Regions from separate parts of the Homo sapiens genome. Here regions 2, 3 and 4 are each linked to region 1. Evidence: promoter capture Hi-C in 16 types of primary human blood cells and fetal thymus (Javierre and others, 2016). All regions are on one chromosome and are shown on one strand. The core of a region is centred on a gene start or on the middle of the fragment in contact, and the rest is flanking DNA. Distances in the headings are between cores, read along the strand shown.

Evidence for each region. Contacts are between HindIII fragments. The CHiCAGO score rates a contact against its expected background, and 5 or more counts as called.
Region 2: a contact is called between a fragment that was not itself captured here and the fragment with the promoter of MORC3 in region 1, in 1 of 17 cell types (M2 macrophages). The highest score is 5.0, in M2 macrophages.
Region 3: a contact is called between a fragment that was not itself captured here and the fragment with the promoter of MORC3 in region 1, in 1 of 17 cell types (M2 macrophages). The highest score is 7.7, in M2 macrophages.
Region 4: a fragment that was not itself captured here is called in contact with the fragment with the promoter of MORC3 in region 1 in 1 of 17 cell types (M2 macrophages); the score reaches 6.9 in M2 macrophages.

What each region holds. Positions count from the first base shown.
Region 1 is chr21:36,317,428-36,322,116 of GRCh38, reverse strand. It overlaps MORC3 (MORC family CW-type zinc finger 3), which reads right to left and starts at 1,920. Exons shown (of 17, transcript NM_015358.3): 1 at 1,814-1,920. The coding sequence starts at 1,852. RefSeq lists a silencer at 1,337-1,796. The HindIII fragment of the contact is 27,571 bases long and covers 1-4,689 here.
Region 2 is chr21:37,112,188-37,116,659 of GRCh38, reverse strand. The region is part of intron 11 of TTC3 (tetratricopeptide repeat domain 3); the gene reads right to left. Among named protein-coding and RNA genes, the nearest start is that of TTC3, 41 kb to the right of the region's middle. The HindIII fragment of the contact is 5,562 bases long and covers 143-4,472 here.
Region 3 is chr21:37,165,026-37,169,714 of GRCh38, reverse strand. It overlaps TTC3 (tetratricopeptide repeat domain 3), which reads right to left. Exons shown (of 46, transcript NM_001330683.2): 33 at 3,100-4,165; 34 at 2,095-2,160. Among named protein-coding and RNA genes, the nearest start is that of TTC3-AS1, 27 kb to the left of the region's middle. The HindIII fragment of the contact is 655 bases long and covers 1,076-1,730 here.
Region 4 is chr21:37,143,052-37,147,574 of GRCh38, reverse strand. It overlaps TTC3 (tetratricopeptide repeat domain 3), which reads right to left. Exons shown (of 46, transcript NM_001330683.2): 21 at 2,930-3,050; 22 at 1-94. Among named protein-coding and RNA genes, the nearest start is that of TTC3-AS1, 49 kb to the left of the region's middle. RefSeq lists an enhancer at 1-237. The HindIII fragment of the contact is 811 bases long and covers 2,323-3,133 here.

The DNA of each region.
Region 1 (4,689 bases), core at 671-3,170:
ACAAAAACAGGTGCTGGGCTGGATTTGGCCCATGAGCTGTATGTAGTTTGCCAACTCCTGACCTAAAGCAAAAGCAAAGAGGCTGCAGATGGGAGATTTCTGTCAGTCAGGTTCCCAACAGCCCATATTACCCACAAAACAAAGACCCAGCACATGGACAGCAGCTACACCCAGAGTGCCCGCTAACAATGCTGGTCTCTAAACACTGACCATTATCTCTGCTTCCTTTCTCCCCTCAATCTTGAAGAGCCAGAGTCTACAAGGGCCTGGGGGCGGGAAGGGAGAAGAGAATCAAAGGACAGAAACAGGAAATCAACTCACTCCGTTTCTCCACTACAGGTTTCTGGGCCTGAACAAGACTCAACCTCGAGAGAGGAAGGAGAGAGAAGTGGGGAAAGGAGATAGGGGAAAGAGAGGGGGAAAAGGGAGGGAGAGAGAATAGAGATTTTAAACTAGGTAAGGCCAGACTTTACAATACCTTAAGCTAATGGGAAAGCGTTAGTCAACCCAGATTCACACAAGTGGGGAATAATTAATGTTTACACTCAGTGGTTAAAAAAAAAAAAAAGAAAAAAAGAATAAAATTGTCCTCTATTTTCAAACTACTAAAGCCTAGCTCACTCAATAAGCTAGTTACATAACGAAAGGATGGACCTTTATCCAGAATACGTAAAGAACTCTTACAAATCAATAAAGATCCTCCCAAAAGAAAAACAGAAAATGGTCAAAGGATATGAATAGGCAATTCAAAAAAACAAAACAAAAAACCACAAAGACTAATACATGCGAAGAGCTCAACAACACAAACAGTCAAGGAAACGCAAGTAAAAGCAAATATCATTTCACAAATATCGGACTAGAAAAAATTTAAAGTCCGTCAAAACCAGGTGTTAGAATCTGCCTAAACGAATGAAAGTCCCAGAGCAATGCACCAATTATTCACTACGTGTTTGTACCCCAAGGAGTCACTACCCATTCGAATGTTAAAATTAGTGGCACTAGGGCAGTCATTCTTTGGCAAAAGTCAACAACCTCCAGAAAAGAGGAACATTTCAGCATAACATCAACTGCGCTCACAAGGTAGAAAAGTTTTTTAGGATAATCAGGTGGGGAAGCCACGCCCACATTTCCTGGACGTGAGATTTCAAGTTATCTTGTGTGACCGCTCCCTACGATTTAAGATACAAGAAATGTTCACAGGGTTTCCAAGAACTCGAAACGCCCCAAAACAGACGCAACGCGGGATAAAGAGGAGAGCTCGAGCTCAGCGATCTAGGGTCTGGGCCCCAAGGCTTCCACTGCCAAGGAAGCTGCAGGCACTGACAGGCATCAGGCACACTCATCCTGACTCCACTCGCCCGCAGGCAGGCCCGCAGCCCCGTCCCCCCGCCCCCGGGACGTCGAGGCCGCCGGCGTTTCTGGACGCGGAACCCGCTCCCTCCCACCACGACGCCCAGCGGACAGAAGAGGGTCAGGGGCCCCGCGGCCCCGAGAGCAGACCGATCTCCCGCCGAGGCCTCGCCCGCGGACGACAGCTGCTGGGAGACTAGGAGGGAGCTGGGAGGAGGAGCCGCGACCCTGGCCCGCCCCGAAGCAAAACAGAAACACAATGCAGAGGCGACGGAACGCAGCCCGGCCCGCAGCCGAGCTGTTCCGCCGACGGGAGCGAGATGGCCGCCCCCTCCCCGGGCCCCGCCGCAGCCCCCGCCGCCGCGTCGGCCCCACAAGCCGCCACCGCCCACTGCCGGCCCCCCTTCGCTTGCCCGCCCGCCCTCCTGGGACACGGCCCGCTCCACCCCTCGCGGCTGCTCACCGCGCTGAGGCGTATCCCGCGGGGTGGCTGCGCCGCCATCTTGAGCGAGCTACAAAGCCAGGAACGGCCTCCGCCGCAACCCGACTGGGAGGTGGCGGAACGACTGTGGAGCCCTATGGGTACCGCCCACTTCCGGGGAGGGGCGCACGTCTGGCCCCTCCCACCCACTTCCGCCTCCAGGCAATGCCGAATTGGGAGCTTGGGGAAGATGAATTGCCTGACTGGTTAAAGCAGGGTACAGTGGGAGCTGAGCTTCCAGCGCGGGGCCCTGCGGGCCTAGGGCGCATGCGCGAGGCGCGGCCGGCCCGTACCCGTCTCGACACCCAGCTGGAGCTCGAGACTCGGGGATCTAGAGTTTGAAGCCTGGCGCGAGATGCGGTATACCCGAGACCGGTGAACTCCAGTCACTTGACCTGGTCGGATGTGAATTGCGCAGAAAAAAGCCATTCCATATCCACCAGTGTCCATGTGAAACCTTAACGAAATAAAGACGGAAATTAATGTAGACTGTTTGGATTTGCCCTGAAAACTATCAATCTAACTCATGATTTAAAAAAAAAAAAAAGAGTTCTGGGGCCGGGCGCGGTAGCTCACGCTTGTAATCCCAGCACTTTGGGAGGCCGAGGTGGGCGGGCGGATCACCTGACTTCGGGAGTTCGAGACCAGCCTGACCAACATGGAGAAATCCCATCTCTACTAAAAATACAAAATTAGCCGGGCGTGGTGGTACATGCCTGTAATCCCAGCTACTCGGAAGGCTGAAGCAGGAGAATGCTTGAACCCAGGAGGCGGAGGTTGCAATGAGCCGAGATTGCGCCATTGCACTCCACCCTGGGCAACAAGAGTGAAACTCCGTCTCAAAATAAATAAATAAGAGTCCTAAAGGCATAAGGCCGGTGCAGTGGCTCATGCCTATAATCCCAACACATTGGGAGGTCGAGGTTGGGGGTTCACTTGATAGGGGTTCAAGACCAGCCTGGCCAACATGGTGAAACCCCATCTCTACTAAAAATACAAAAATTAGCTGGGCATATTAGTGGGCGCCTGTAATCCCAGCTACTCGGGGGGCTGAGGCAGGAGAAGTGGGTGAACCCAGGACAAGGAGGTTGCAGTGAGCCCAGATCGCGCCACTGTACTCCAGCCTGGGCGACAGAGTGAGACTGTCTCAAAAAAATTAATTATTTTTAGAAAGAGAAATTGGCTGGGTGCAGTGGCTCATGTCTGTAATCTCAGCACTTTGAGAGGCTACATTGCGAGGGTCTCTTGAACCCAGGAGTTCGAGACGAGCCTGGGCAACACGAGGAGACCTCATCTTTACAAAAAAAAAATTGAATTAGCTGGCAGGGCGTGGTGGCTCACACCTGTAATCCCAGCACCTTGGGAGGCTAAGGCGGGCAGATCACTTGAGGTCGGGTGTTTGAGACCAGCCTGACCAACATGGCGAAACCCCATCTCTACTAAAAATACAAAATTAGCCGGGTGTGGTGGCACATGCCCGTAATCCCAGCTACTGGAGAGGCTGAGGCAGGAGAATCACTTGAACCCAGGAGGTGGAGGTTGCGGTGAGCCAAGATCACACCACTGCACTCCAGCCGGGACAACAAGAGCGAAACTCCATCTCAAAAAAAAAAAAAAATTAATTGTGCTTGGGGGCGCACGCCTGTGGTTCCAGCTACTTGGGAGGCTGAGGTGGGGAGGACTACTTGACCCTGGGAGACTGAGGCTGTAATGAGCCATGTTCTCACCACTGCACTCAGTCTGGGCAACAGAGCGAGACTCTCGTCTCAAAAAGGAAAAAGAAACAAAAGAGAATGGATTTTTTTTTCTTTTTTTTTTTTTGGAGACCGAGTCTCGCTCTGTCGCCCAGGCTGGAGTGCAGTGGAATGATCTCGGCTCACTGCAAGCTCCGCCTTCCGGGTTCACGCCATTCTCCTGCCTCAGCCTCCCGAGTAGCTGGGACTACAGGCGCCCGCCACTGCGCCCAGCTAATTTTTTGTATTTTTAGTAGAGACGGGGTTTCACCGTGGTCTCGATCTCCTGACCTCGTGATCCGCCCGCCTCTGCCTCCCAAAGTGCTGGGATTACAGGCGTGAGCCACCGCGCCTGGCCTGGATTTTTTTCTTTTTCTAGAGACTCTGTTGCCCAGGCTGGAGTACAGTGGCACAATCATAGCTCACTGCAACCTTGAACTCTTGGGTTCAAGCAATCCTCCCGCCTTAGTCTCCCAAGTAGTTGGGACAACGGGTGTGTGCCACCACACTCAGCTGATTTTTAAAATATTTTTTATAGAGAAAGGGGTCTTGCTGTGTTGCCCATGCTGGCCTTGAACTCCTGGGCTCAAGTGCTCCACCTTCTTTGGCCTCCCGAAGTGCTGGAATTATAGTCGTGAGCCACCATGCCCGATCAAAGAAGTAAGTAACCAGGATAGAGAGGAATTTCCAAAGAATTCAGAGGGACAGCATTCGAGGGAGACACAACTCTGCAATTCCAGAAAAACAACAGCAGAGGCCTAGAGATTTGGAAAGGGCTGCTCATGTTTGAGGAACTGATATGGGACAAGTGTAATTAGAGCCTGGCATTGGAGACAGAGAGTGCAGTAGGATAGTGATGAATTGATGAAGTGCAGTAGGATAGTGATGAATTGATGACATAACCTATTGTACAACAGACTGGTCTGCACAACCTGTTGTACAATAGAGTATGTCTTCAAATTTTCCTAAGGTTGAGAGGATTCTGGAAAGATAGTGTGAGGACATGGTTTTTGAGCCACCCCAAAAATACCACTACATAAATCCCTCCATAAAAACACATAGAGGGCTGGGTGTCATGTCTCAAGCCTGTAACCCCAGCACTTTGGGAGGCTGAGATGGGCGGAT
Region 2 (4,472 bases), core at 1,674-4,173, 790 kb before region 1:
TTTAAAATTTTTTTGTAGAGACGGGGTTTCACATGTTGGCCAGGCTGGTCTTGGAACTCCTGACTTCAAGTGATCTGCCCGCCTCAGCCTCCTGAAGTGCTAGGATTACAGGTGTGAGCCATCATGCCTGGCATCTAAAGCTTCACTTAAAAAAAAAATATTTTTATAATTTAGGAAAATACAGAGACTAATACACAGATACCCAGAATTAACTGTTAACATTTTGTTATATTTGCTTCTGATTTTTAAATGAAATAAATAAAACTATTTCTGATGATACAGATATGGCTGAAATCTCCTTTGTACCCTCTCCAATCTCCTTTCCCTCTCTTACTGCCCAGAAGCAAACACTATCATGAACTCGATAGATATTTTTCCAGCCTATGTTTTATTGACTTTTTCATTTAACTTTTTAAAATCCATAAATGTTGATAAGCCAGCTAATTCAACTGCAATCTACTATTTGATTCATTCAATCACTAAGTCAACAATTATTTACTAATGAGTGCCTGCTAAGTAAGTGTCAGGCAGCTTGTCAGACAGTCTGGATTCAAGAGTGAAGTGAACCAAACACCAAAAAAATCTTTCCTTGTGGAGCTCATATTATACTGGAAGACACACAATAGCCACTATAACTCAAACAGTAGATATAATGTATTAGATAATGGTAAGTCCTAAGAAGAAAAAAGTAAAGCAAGGAAAGAAGATAAGAAATGCGTAGGAAGTGAGGTGTTTGGCATTTTAGTAATGAGGCCAAGGAATGTTTCACTGAGAAGAGTCCTTTCAATATCGACTGAAAAGAAATAAGGGGGCTGGCCAACGCTCTGGGGAAAAGCATTCTAGGCAGAGGGAAGGGCAAGTACAAAGTGGAAGTGGGCCTGGAATGTCTGAGGAACAGTGAGGATGCCAAGAGGCCAAGATAAAGTGAACCAGGGACAGAGCAGGAGCAGTGAGGTTGGAGAAACAACAAGTGTTCAAGACGGGGACAGATCACACAGGTCAGAGTAACAACTTTGATCAAGTGAAAATACCACATTTATCTGCTGCTTTATCAATAGACATGTAGGTATTTGCAGTTGTGTGCCATTAAAACAATGCTGCAATGACCAACCTTGCATATCAAACCATGTGCACATTTGCAAGAAATTTTCTAGAGCACACACACTCAGAATCAAGTAACTGTGGAGTCTATTATAGTGCTCCCTGACTTGGTTGTAAGCAATCACACTCCCACCAGTTTACTGGGGCTTCCTGTTACTACACATACCCACCAACACCAGACTATCAGCCTCTTTAATTTCTGCCAATCTGAAGGACTCAGACAATATGACATTGTAATATTTACTCACATAGTGGGTTCTGTGTGGAGGCCCTCTATTCTGCACTATTGGTTTCATTCTTTTATCTGTGTACCAAATCCCTACAATTTTAATTACTAGGAAATAGAAATAGTTTCTTTATTATTATTATTATTATTATTATTATACTTTAAGTTTTAGGGTACATGTGCACAACGTGCAGGTTTGTTACATAGGTATACATGTGCCATGTTGCTGTGCTGCACCCATTAACTCGTCATTTAGCATTAGGTATATCTCCTAATGCTATCCCTCTCCCCTCCCACCTCACAACAGGCCCCGGTGTGTGATGTTCCCCTTCCTGTGTCCATGTGCTCTCATTGTTCAATTCCCACCTATGAGTGAGAACATGCGGTGTTTGGTTTTTTGTCCCTGCAACAGTTTGCTGAGAATGATGGTTTCCAGCTTCATCCATGTCCCTACAAAGGACATGAACTCATCATTTTTTATGGCTGCTTAGTATTCCATGGTGTATATGTGCCATATTTTCTTAACCCAGTCTATCATTGTTGGACATGTGGGTTGGTTCCAAGTCTTTGCTATTGTGAATACTGCCACAATAAACATATGTGTGCATGTGTCTTTATAGCAGCATGATTTATAATCCTTTGGGTATATACCCAGTAATGGGATGGCTGGGTCAAATGGTATTTCTAGTTCGAGATCCCTGAGGAATCGCCACACTGACTTCCACAATGGTTGAACTAGTTTACAGTCCCACCAACAGTGTAAAAGTGTTCCTATTTCTCCACATCCTCTCCAGCACCTGTTGTTTCTTGACTTTTTAATGATTGCCATTCTAAATGGTGTGAGATGGTATCTCACTGTGGTTTTGATTTGCATTTCTCTGATGGCCAGTGATGAGCATTTTTTCATGTGTCTGTTGGCTACATAAATGTCTTCTTTTGAGAAGGGTCTGTTCATATCCTTCGCCCACTTTTTGATGGGGTTGTTTTTTTCTTGTAAATTTGTTTGAGTTCATTGTAGATTCTGGATATTAGCCCTTTGTCAGATGAGTAGGTTGCAAAAATTTTCTCCCATTTTGTAGGTTGCCTGTTCACTCTGATGGTAGTTTCTTTTGCTGTGCAGAAGCTCTTTAGTTTAATTAGATCCCATTTGTCAATTTTGGCTTTTGTTGCCATTGCTTTTGGTGTTTTAGACATGAAGTCCTTGCCCATGCCTATGTCCCGAATGGTATTGCCTAGGTTTTCTTCTAGGGTTTTTATGGTTTTAAGTCAAACATTGAAGTCTTTAATCCATCTTGAATTAATTTTTGTATAAGGTGCAAGGAAGGGATCCAGTTTCAGCTTTCTACATATGGTTGGCCAGTTTTCCCAGCACCATTTATTAAATAGGGAATCCTTTCCCCATTGCTTGTTTTTGTCAGGTTTGTCAAAGATCAGATAGTTGTAGATATGTGGCACTATTTCTGAGGGCTCTGTTCTGTTCCATTGGTCTATATCTTTGTTTTGGTACCAGTAACATGCTGTTTTAGTTACTGTAGCCTTGTAGTATAGTTTGAAGTCAGGTAAGCATGATGCCTCCAGCTTTGTTCTTTTGGCTTAGGATTGACTTGGTAATGTGGGCTCTTTTTTGGTTCCATATGAACTTTAAAGTAGTTTTTTTCCAATTCTGTGAAGAAAGTCATTGGTAGCTTGATGGGGATGGCACTGAATCTATAAATTACCTTGGGCAATATGGCCATTTTCACAATATTGATTCTTCCTACCCATGAGCATGGAATGTTCTTCCATTTGTTTGTATCCTCTTTTATTTCATTGAGCAGTGGTTTGTAGCTCTCCTTGAAGAGGTCCTTCACATCCCTTGTAAGTTGGATTCCTAGGTATTTTATTCTCTTTGAAGCAATAGCGAATGGGAGTTCACTCATGATTTGGCTCTCTGTTTGTTATTGGTGTGTAAGAATGCTTGTGATTTTTGCACATTGATTTTGTACTCTGAGACTTTGCTGAAGTTGGTTATCAGCTTAAGGAGATTTTGGGCTGAGACGATGGGGTTTTCTAGATATACAATCATGTTATCTGCAAACAGGGACAATTTGACTTCCTCTTTTCCTAATTGAATGCCCTTTATTTCCTTCTGCGTGATTGCCCTGGCCAGAACTTCCAACACTATGTTGAATAGGAGTGGTGAGAGAGGGCATCCCTGTCTTGTGCCAGTTTTCAAAGGGAATGCTTCCAGTTTTTGTCCATTCAGTATGATATTGGCTGTGGGTTTGTCATAGCTAGCTCTTATTATTTTGAAATACATCCCATCAATACCTAATTTACTGAGAGTTTTTAGCATGAAGCGTTGTTGAATTTTGTCAAAGGACTTTTCTGCATCTATTGAGATAATCATGTGGTTTTTGTCATTGGTTCTGTTTATATGCTGGATTACATTTATTGATTTTCATATGTTGAACCGGCCTTGCATCCCAGGGATGAAGCCCACTTGATCATGGTGGATAACCTTTTTGATGTGTTGCTGGATTCGGTTTGCCAGTATTTTACTGAGGATTTTTGCATCAATGTTCATCAAGGATATTGGTCTAAAATTCTCTTTTTTTGTTGTGTCTCTGCCAGGCTTTGGTATCAGGATGATGCTGGCTTCATAAAATGAGTTAGGGAGGATTCCCTCTTTTTCTATTGATTGGAATAGTTTCAGAAGGAATGGTACCAGCTCCTCCTAGTACCTATGGTAGAATTCGGCTGTGAATCCATCTGGTTCCGGACTTTTTTTGATTGGTAAGCTATTAATTATTGGCTCAACTTCAGAGCCTGTTATTGGTCTATTCAGAGATTCAACTTCTTCCTGGTTTAGTCTTGGGAGAGTGTATGTGTCGAGGAATTTATCCATTTCTTCTAGATTTTCTAGTTTATTTGCGTAGAGGTGTTTACAGTATTCTCTGATGGTAGTTTGTATTTCCATGGGATCAGTGATGATCCCCCCTTTGTCATGTTTTATTGTGTCTATTTGATTCTTCTCTCTTTTCTTATTAGTCTTGCTAGCGGTCTATCAATTTTGTTGATCTTTTCAGAAAACCAGCTCCTGGATTCACTGATTTTTTGAAGGGTTTTTTGTGTCTCTATTTCCTTCAGTTCTGCTCTGATCTTA
Region 3 (4,689 bases), core at 154-2,653, 850 kb before region 1:
CACCACGGCCAGCTAATTTTTTTTAATTTTAGTAGAGATGGGGTTTACTATGTTGGCCAGCTGGTCTCAAACTCCTAACCTCGTGATCCACCCACCTCAGCCTCCCAAAGTGCTGGGATTACAGGCATGAGCCACCACACCCAGCCAATCTACCATCTTGATTGACTGACTGAGATGGAGTCTCACTCTGTCGCCCAGGCTGGAGTACACTGGCGTGATCTTGGCTCACTGCAACCTCCGCCTCCCAGGTTCAAGCAATTCTCCTACCTCAGCCTCCCAAGTAGCTGGGATTACAGGTAAGCTACCACACCTGGCTAATTTTTGTATTTTTAGTAGAGACGGGGTTTCAACATGTTGGCCAGGCACTCTCATATTAATGGTCTATGTATGTGGTAATATAGATAGATTTATATTGTGTTTTGATATTTAGTTGCACAACTCCTTTTCTTAGTTTCTCTTCCATACCCATTCTTGATGTTCATTTTTACATATGAAGTTTAAAATCAATTTGTCTAGTTTCAAATTAATCCTGTGCAGTAACCAGGCCTCTTGTTAGTCACAGCCTTGTATAGACCTCTCCTACCATGTATCAGGGTTGGTGGATTGATCTATGTGACCAAGAGAATGCGCAGAAGTGATAATTTGTGACTTCCTAAAGCACTGCCGCTTCTGCCTGGTATCACACACTCTGGGAAAAGCCAGCCCCATGAGGTCAAGCAGGGCTAGGTGGAGGTCCACAAGGCAAGGAACTGAAGCTTCCTGACAACTGCCAACATCCGCTTGCCAGCCATGTGAGTGAGCTATCTTGGAAGTAGAACCTCTGGGCCCAGTTACTCCCGCAGATGACCAAGCCCTGGTCAACATCTTGGCTAGCTACATGAGAATCTCCAGAAGCATCCAACTAAACTGCTCCTGAATGCCTGACTTAGCGAAATTGTGAGATTTCACAATTGTGAAATATTTTACTGTTTTAAGCCACTAGCTTTTGAGGTTGTTTGTTATATATACAGCAATATACATAACTAATTTGCCCTGTTCATGTATATACTGGGATTGTGTTAAATTTTAAAAAGCTTTAGGGAGAACCAATCTCATTATCATAATATGTGTTCTTATCCAAGTACATGAAATATCTTTTCATTTAAGGCTTCTATGTGTCTCTCCATAGCATTTAAAAATTTTTCTTTATATACATTTAAGTATTTTATCTCTTTTTTGGTATTGAAAATATTTTCTTTCAACATACTTTCTAACAGGTAATTGTTTATATATATTTTTATATACAAGTATAGGTTTATATAGGTTAGTGTAGGTTTTCAGTTGATCATTTTGGATTTTCCTGGTACACAGCCCTAGCCTCTGTAAATAATGATACTCACATCTCCTCTTTTCTATCTTCTTTCTTTCTCATATCTGCTTTCTCAGTTAATATACCCAGGATAACAATAAATATTAATGGTGATGTTTTACCATTAAGCAAGATGATGGCTTTTGGCTTAAAATATTAGCATGTTGAGAAATATTCATCAATTCCCATTTTCTTACTAGTTTTGGTCAAGACAGTGACCTGAATTTTATCCAATACCTTTACAGCAACTTTGAGTTGATAAGACAACTTTTCTCTTATGATGCATATTAACGAACTAAATTATATTAGTAGGTTTTCTAATTGAATCATTATTATAGTAGAGAAGGTCTTTATCTTTCTGTATTATTCGCATGAATAAGCTTACTTATAAATTATTATATGCTCATTATACCAGTTAAAACAATAAAGCTGGCCAGCCTGGATGACAGTGAGACCGTGTCTCAAAAATAATTAAAATAAAAATAAATAAAATTTTAAAAATAATAAAATAAAACAATAACGCTGTTATAATTTGAAATAAGTATGCTGGAAAAAAATTACCTTTTCCTTCCCTTCTCAAATTTCAACAATAAAAACAAAATCATTTTTTTGTTATGTTCTCAAGCTTATTCCATGATAACTTTGTGTGGAATAAGCTGACTCCAAAATAGTTCTAGTTCATCATTCCATCTAGATAAATTAATGAAAACTAAACCTTTAAACAGTTTAATGTAATTTTGACTCACTTGTCGTTCCTCAAAAGGATTATATGGCTCAGTATTGACTTCTTGGTGTATTATGTTCCAAGATACCTGTGGGCAAAACAAAAAATAAAATTCACTTTATCTCAATCGCTCTAGTAAAATAAGCCCATCAAGTAGTAACACTTTAAAACACACCCACAATTTTTTCAAGTTTTTTTTCCCATTTAGATCATGTTCCATGCTTTCCGTAAACATGTATATTAGGAAAGTTATTTAGAATTAGCATATCTGGAAATGATTATGATCCATTGCTCTTAACCTATTTTTTTCAAAGCTTCCTAGAAAACATAATGAGTGGGGCAATTCAATAAGGATTTAATGAATTCATACCCTATAAAGGCAACCATAGGAGAATCTTGATTTCATCTCTTCCTTGTTAGGAAAGAACTCATACACATCCCTCTTGTTTCTACCTGGCTGTCTCTTTTTAACATTCTCATTCCTCCCCTGGTTTGACAGGAGAAGCTGGGCCTGTGTAGGTCAGAGTCTTCCTTTTTCCTTCTCTTTCTGAGGAGCTGCCAGCACATTTTCCCTTCCTCCTTCATGCGCTAAGTCCTATGGGGCAGGCACCCCACGCTGGAAGGCCTCCAGGTGGGCCCTCCTGTAACTGGCAGGTAAGGCACTGTGATGCAGGCTACACTTCCAGCTAGCACTTGAACTTTCCTACAAACAGCCACCTTCTCCTCCAGCACCTTTATTAATTCTTAGGATGACGTTTTGGCTCCACCTGCTGTCTTATTTCTCAATCTGTGTAGAATTTCAGTAGCAAAGATGGGTATTGTTTATTGGACCCAAGCTTCTTTCTGAGAAGATTACCTGTCATGCCTCACAAAAGAGTTCATATTTTAAAAGTATTTTCAGGCAAAAGCTTCAGTAATCATTATAAAGTCAATCAACTTTAAGGATTCTTGCAAATATAACGGCAATGAAAAATGAAAAGGAAAATTTAACTTCAGTATTAAGAAGACTTTTCTATTTAACTCTTACCTGTATGGCAACCATCTGCACGTGTGGAATGTTTGTTACTGCACTGGTGCTTTCTGGAATTACTTCACATTTGTTGTTAGAATTTCCACAGTGCTCATCATTTCTGTTAGACTCACTCAGGACTGTATGAGCATCACCTGTGCTGCAGTGTGACTTTACAGATATTCCCAAAGAGCCCTCAAGGATCTGTGTTTCAGAGGCAATCTGGTGACCAGCAACATTCTCAGCATTCAAATGATGACCCTCAAAATAGGCAGCAGCATTTTTATCTGCTCTGTCATTGGCTACAAAAGACGGCACCACTGGTACTGATCTTGGTAGCTGATATTCAGGAGAAAGGCTGGCCAAGGGTGTATATATGCTGGTGTACTGGGGCAAACCTGGTAACACGTTTATGTATGCTGGCGGTGTCTGGGTGATATCAAATCTCTGGAAAGGAAGATACGTACAGTATCCTGTGACCAAATGGGATTGAGCCCAATAAGTTGGTTTCACATCCTCAAGAACCGGTTTGGGGGAATTACAGGAGACTCGCTTGTAATTTGCATCCTCAGAGCCTGGTTTAGGAGAATTAGAAGAGACCCCTTTGGGTTGCCCATCCTCAGAAACTTGTCTAGAAGAATTGTCGGATACTGGTTTGGCCTTCACATCTTCACAAGCTGGCTTGGGAGAATTTGCAGACACAGGTTTGGGTTTCACATTTTCAAAAGCTGGTGCTGAAGATGAATCTGACACTGGTTTAGACTTTACATCTGGTTTAAATTCCCTAGCAGCTGGATTCAGTTGTAGTTTAACTCGTACATACTCCCCTGCTTTTGAAATTTCTTCTACTTTTGTTTTAATGTTTTTCTTCTTCCTTTTTTTCTTGAGCCGTGATGCAACCTTCTTCAGTGCAATACAGTTGTCAATCACAACAAAACGAGGGCATCCCAAGAGAAAAGGTTTTAAACCTCCTGCTTTTTCTAGTATCTGTCGAGTTTCTTCTGGGAAAAACTCATATTCTGCAGAGAACATCTTGTTACTCATGTCCAAGGGACCATGTTCCTCCAAAAACTGAGAGAAGTAACTTGGAAAAAATTTACATTTACATGAGTTACTATAAGGAAGTACTTGAATATGTCTATTTGAAAAAAACTTTTATTCTCCCAAAGGAAAACACTGTTTCACTTTTCACTGATCTCAACCTTTCCTCAACAACAAATATAACAAACATAAGGTTAACTGCAATCAATGATACTATAAAGAAAATTTTGTCTACCTCCTAGAAAATGATCATTTAAAACTTTTCTGGGAGCAGGGGAAAGCAAAAGGAAATCAAAAAGTTATTTCATAACTTTCAACTATGTAATTACATAATTTATTCTAAAAACAACAACAAAAAATTTATTCAGGAAAGATAATAATGCCAATAAGAATTTTAAATAAAAAGAGAAAATCAAATCTCAAAAACAAATCCTATTTGAATTTGCGTACAGTAAATACTGAAAACTACATACTTTAGCTTTACTTTTGGATGCCTGAAGCAAATTCTAGCATACTTTAAGAAATAATAGTATAATTTTACAGTTGTTTCCACACTGTCACCCAAGA
Region 4 (4,523 bases), core at 1,479-3,978, 820 kb before region 1:
GGATCTTAGAATATCCATGGCACTTCTGATAGCAACAAATGGCATCTGGCACTGGAGGGAACTTGCATTCTTCAACAAATTTCTCTAACAGCATCTAAAACAAAATAAACAAAAATGATACCATTACAATACTAATCTGTCAATAAAAATGCTTGTGATTTCAATAACCTCTTGCCATCAAAATATTTTCAGCATAAGAATGACTAAATTTTTTCACCAACAACAAACTACATACAACTTTTAAAGTTTTTCCTTTTAAAAGGAAGGCTGATAAGAGACATAAGAGAGATTTAAAAAGAGGACTGGACAAAATTTTTTTTCAGAATTTCGAAAGAATCAAAATTTTGTCCTGTTACAATCATCAAATCGCATTTTATAATTTACAGCTCTCAGAAATCTTCCATAAGCATTAAGAGGAAGTCAAGTAAGGCAGAATAACCCTTAGGGTAATCCTGAGGACTTTACCAGGCTCCTCTTGCCCAACATCACCTCATCCAGAATCCTAACACTCCCATTATCTTCCTCCTTGCAGCTCTGCCACTGTTGTTTGTGGACTCCCTGGAGAATTATTCCACTGCTAATGAAGCCCCCAAGAGACTCATGCCATGCTTCCAGTGCTGGCTTTTTGTTATCAATAGCTCCTATGCCTCTATCCCAATCTTGTATGAAGAGAGGTAAATCCAAGAATCCCTGTGTTGTATTTTTTATAATAGCTTTGTTGAGACATAATTTACACACTATACAACTCAAATGAAGTGTACGGTTCGGTGTTCTTAGCATATTCACAGGATGTGCTGACATCACCACGGTCTAAATTTAGAACATTTTCAAAAAGAAACTCCATACGCATTAGCAGTCCCTCCTCATTTTCCCCTAACCTTCCAGGCCCAGCAATCACTGGTCTACTTTCTGTCACTATATACAGACTTGCTTATTCTGGAGATTTCATAGGAATGGACTCACACAAGCCCTTTGTGTTTGGCTTCTTTTACTTAGCATAATGTTTCCAAGGTCCATCCATGCTGCAGCATGTTATCAGTACTCTTTTTTTTTTTTGAGACAGCGTCTCACTCTGTCACTCAGGCTGGAGTGCAGTGGCACGATCTCAGCTCACTGCAACCTCTGCCTCCTGGGCTCAACTGACCCTTCCACCTCAGCCTCCTGAGTAGCTGGGACTACAGGCATGTGCCACTATGTTTGGCTAATTTTTGTATTGATGGGTTTCGCCATGTTGCCCAGGCTGGTCTTGAACTCCTGAGCTCAAGCAATCCTCCTGCCTTGGCCTCCCAAAGTGGTAGGATTACAGGCGTAAGCCACCAAGACTGGCCATTTGTTTTTGAGGCAGACTCTCACTCTGTTGCCCAGGCTGCACTGCAGTGGCACAATCAAGGCTCACTGCAGCCTCAACCTCCCAGGTTCCAATACTTACGTACCCATTTATCAGCTCACGAATACTTGGGCTATTTCCCATTTTGGGCTATTATGACTAATGCTGCTATGAACATTCATGTACAAGTTTTTGTGAGAACATGTTTTCCTTTCTCTGTACACACCTAGGAGTGAAACTGCTGGATCATATGGTATGCTACAGTTTGAATGTTTGACCCTCCAAACCACACATTGAAATCTGATCCCCGGTGTTGGAGGTGAGGCACAGTGGGAGGTGTTTTGAGTCATGGCGACGAATCTCTCATGAACAGATTAATTCCCTCCCTGGGGTGAGTGAGTTCTCACTCCATTAGTTCCCTAAAGAGTTGGTTGTTAAAAAGAGCCTGGCACTTCCCTGTCTCTCACTATATGATCTCTACAGACAGGCTCTCCTACGCCTTCTGACATGAGTAGGAGCTATTGAAGGCCTTCACCAGCAGGTGCTGACACCATGCTTCTTATACAGCCTGCAAAACCATAAGCCAACTTTTCTTCATAAATCACCAGTCTCAGGTACTTCTTTATAGCAACACAAATGGACTGAGACATGGTAACTCTATGTTTAACTGTTTGAGGAACTGCCAGACTATTTTCCAAAGCAGCTGCATCATTATACATTACCACCAGCAGTGTCTGAATGTTCCCATTTTTCTACACCCTTGCCAATATTTATTGTCTGCCCACATCCTAATGAGTGTGAAGTGGTATCTCACTGTGGTTTTGATTTGTGTTTCTCTGATAGCTAATGATGCTGAATGTCTTTTCATGTGCTAATTTTGGCCATTTGTATATCTTCGTTGCAGAAATGTCTATTCAGATCCTTTGACTACTTCTTAGATTATTTGTCTTTTTATTATTGAGTTGTAAAAGTTGACTTCTGTGATTTTAAAAGCTTCAGCCAAAATCAAGTTCTGAGTACATGTGAGAGTTCACTACAAGTAAAAGCCTATCTCAGTCATTTCACACGTAAGTCTTTCTAGAACAAGCAAAGCATCTTTATGCTTCTGGATATGAGACTAAATTCATATTTTTCTAAATCTTCAAGTACCATCTCAGTAACTGTGGTAACTTTATGATGAAACAACAATACTATACCTTCCTCTAAGTACAACCAAGTCCAGCAGAGTGCATGATCATGCATACTCAGAAGTCAGAATGCCTGGACTCAAGTTCCAGGACCACAATTTGCTTGCTGTTTCACCTTGAGTGCATCATTTCACCTCTCTAAACTTAACCTTCCTCATCTGTAAAATGGGAATGATCACAGTGCCCCCCTGCACGGGGCTGCTATAAGGATTAAGCATAATGATAAATGAAGGTACACACTGGCACACAGAAAACATTCAATAAATGTCAGAGATTCTCATTAGACAGTAGAGGGGAAATGCGTGTAAGGGAGGTGGGGATGGAATGCTCCTACCTCTCCGCCTCCTGATACCTGAGTCAGTCAATGCAGATAAGCATTCACAGTAAGAAACACTCTGCAAAAATAAATGGTTACCTTTATTTTTTGTGGCTGAGACTCTTCAATAATCACATTACTCGTGGGCCAAGTTAACACTCCAGGAAGACGATAAATCAAGGTTCTTGCTTTCTCAAAGTGATTGAGAGCTTCTAGAAATCTAAAGTCATAATTATGAAAAAGGCATTAAAGATGTAAAATGGTATTTTCACTCCCTTCAAAAGTCACCAAAGATCTCAAGCTTACTGGGACGAATACATTTGATGAATCACTGAACAGCAATATTCAATGTAACCTAAATTTTCTTTAAAAAAACAAAGTCACTATTGCTGTTTGCTATAAAAGTAATATACATTAAACACAACTCGTCTTGGACACTGGCTTTATTGTGGCAGGTGTACACTTTTTTGTTGTTTGTTGTTTATATATATATATTTTTTTTATTATACTTTAAGTTCTAGGGTACATGTGCACAACGTGCAGGTTTGTTACATAGGTATACATGTGCCATGTTGCTGTGCTGCACCCATTAACTGGTCCTTTACCTTAGGTATATCTCCTAATGCTATCCCTCTCCCCTCCCCCCACCTCACAACAGGCCCCAGTGTGTGATGTTCCCCTTCCTGTGTCCATGTGTTCTCATTGTTCAATTCCCACCTACGAGTGAGAACATGCGGTGTTTGGTTTTTTGTCCCTGCAACAGTTTGCTGAGAATGATGGTTTCCAGCTTCATCCATGTCCCTACAAAGGACATGAACTCATCCTTTTTTATGGCTGCTTAGTATTCCATGGTGTATATGTGCCACATTTTCTTAATCCAGTCTATCACTGAGGGACATTTGGGTTGGTTCCAAGTCTTTGCTATTGTGAATAGTGCCGCAATAAACATATGTGTGCATGTGTCTTTATAGCAGCATGATTTATAATCCTTTGGGTATATACCGAGTAATGGGATGGCTGGGTCAAATGGTATTTCTAGTTCGAGATCCCTGAGGAATCGCCACACTGACTTCCACAATGGTTGAACTAGTTTACAGTCCCACCAACAGTGTAAAAGTGTTCCTATTTCTCCACATCCTCTCCAGCACCTGTTGTTTCTTGACTTTTTAATGATCGCCATTCTAACTGGTGTGAGACGGTATCTCATTGTGGTTTTGATTTGCATTTCTCTGATGGCCAGTGATGATGAGCATTTTTTCATGTGTCTGTTGGCTGCATAAATGTCTTCTTTTGAGAAGTGTCTGTTCATATCCTTTGCCCACTTTTTGATGGGGTTGTTTTTTTCTTGTAAATTTGTTTGAGTTCTTTGTAGATTCTGGATATTAGCCCTTCGTCAGATGAGTAGATTGCAAAAATTTTCTCCCATTCTGTAGGTTGCCTGTTCACTCTGATGGTAGTTTCTTTTGCTGTGCAGAAGCTCTTTAGTTTAATTAGATCCCATTTGTCAATTTTGGCTTTTGTTGCCATTGCTTTTGGTGTTTTAGACATGAAGTCCTTACCCATGCCTATGTCCTGAATGGTAATGCCTAGGTTTTCTTCTAGGGTTTTTATGGTTTTAGGTCAAACATTGAAGTCTTTAATCCATCTTGAATTAATTTTTGTACAAGGTGCAAGGAAGAGATCCAGTTTCAGC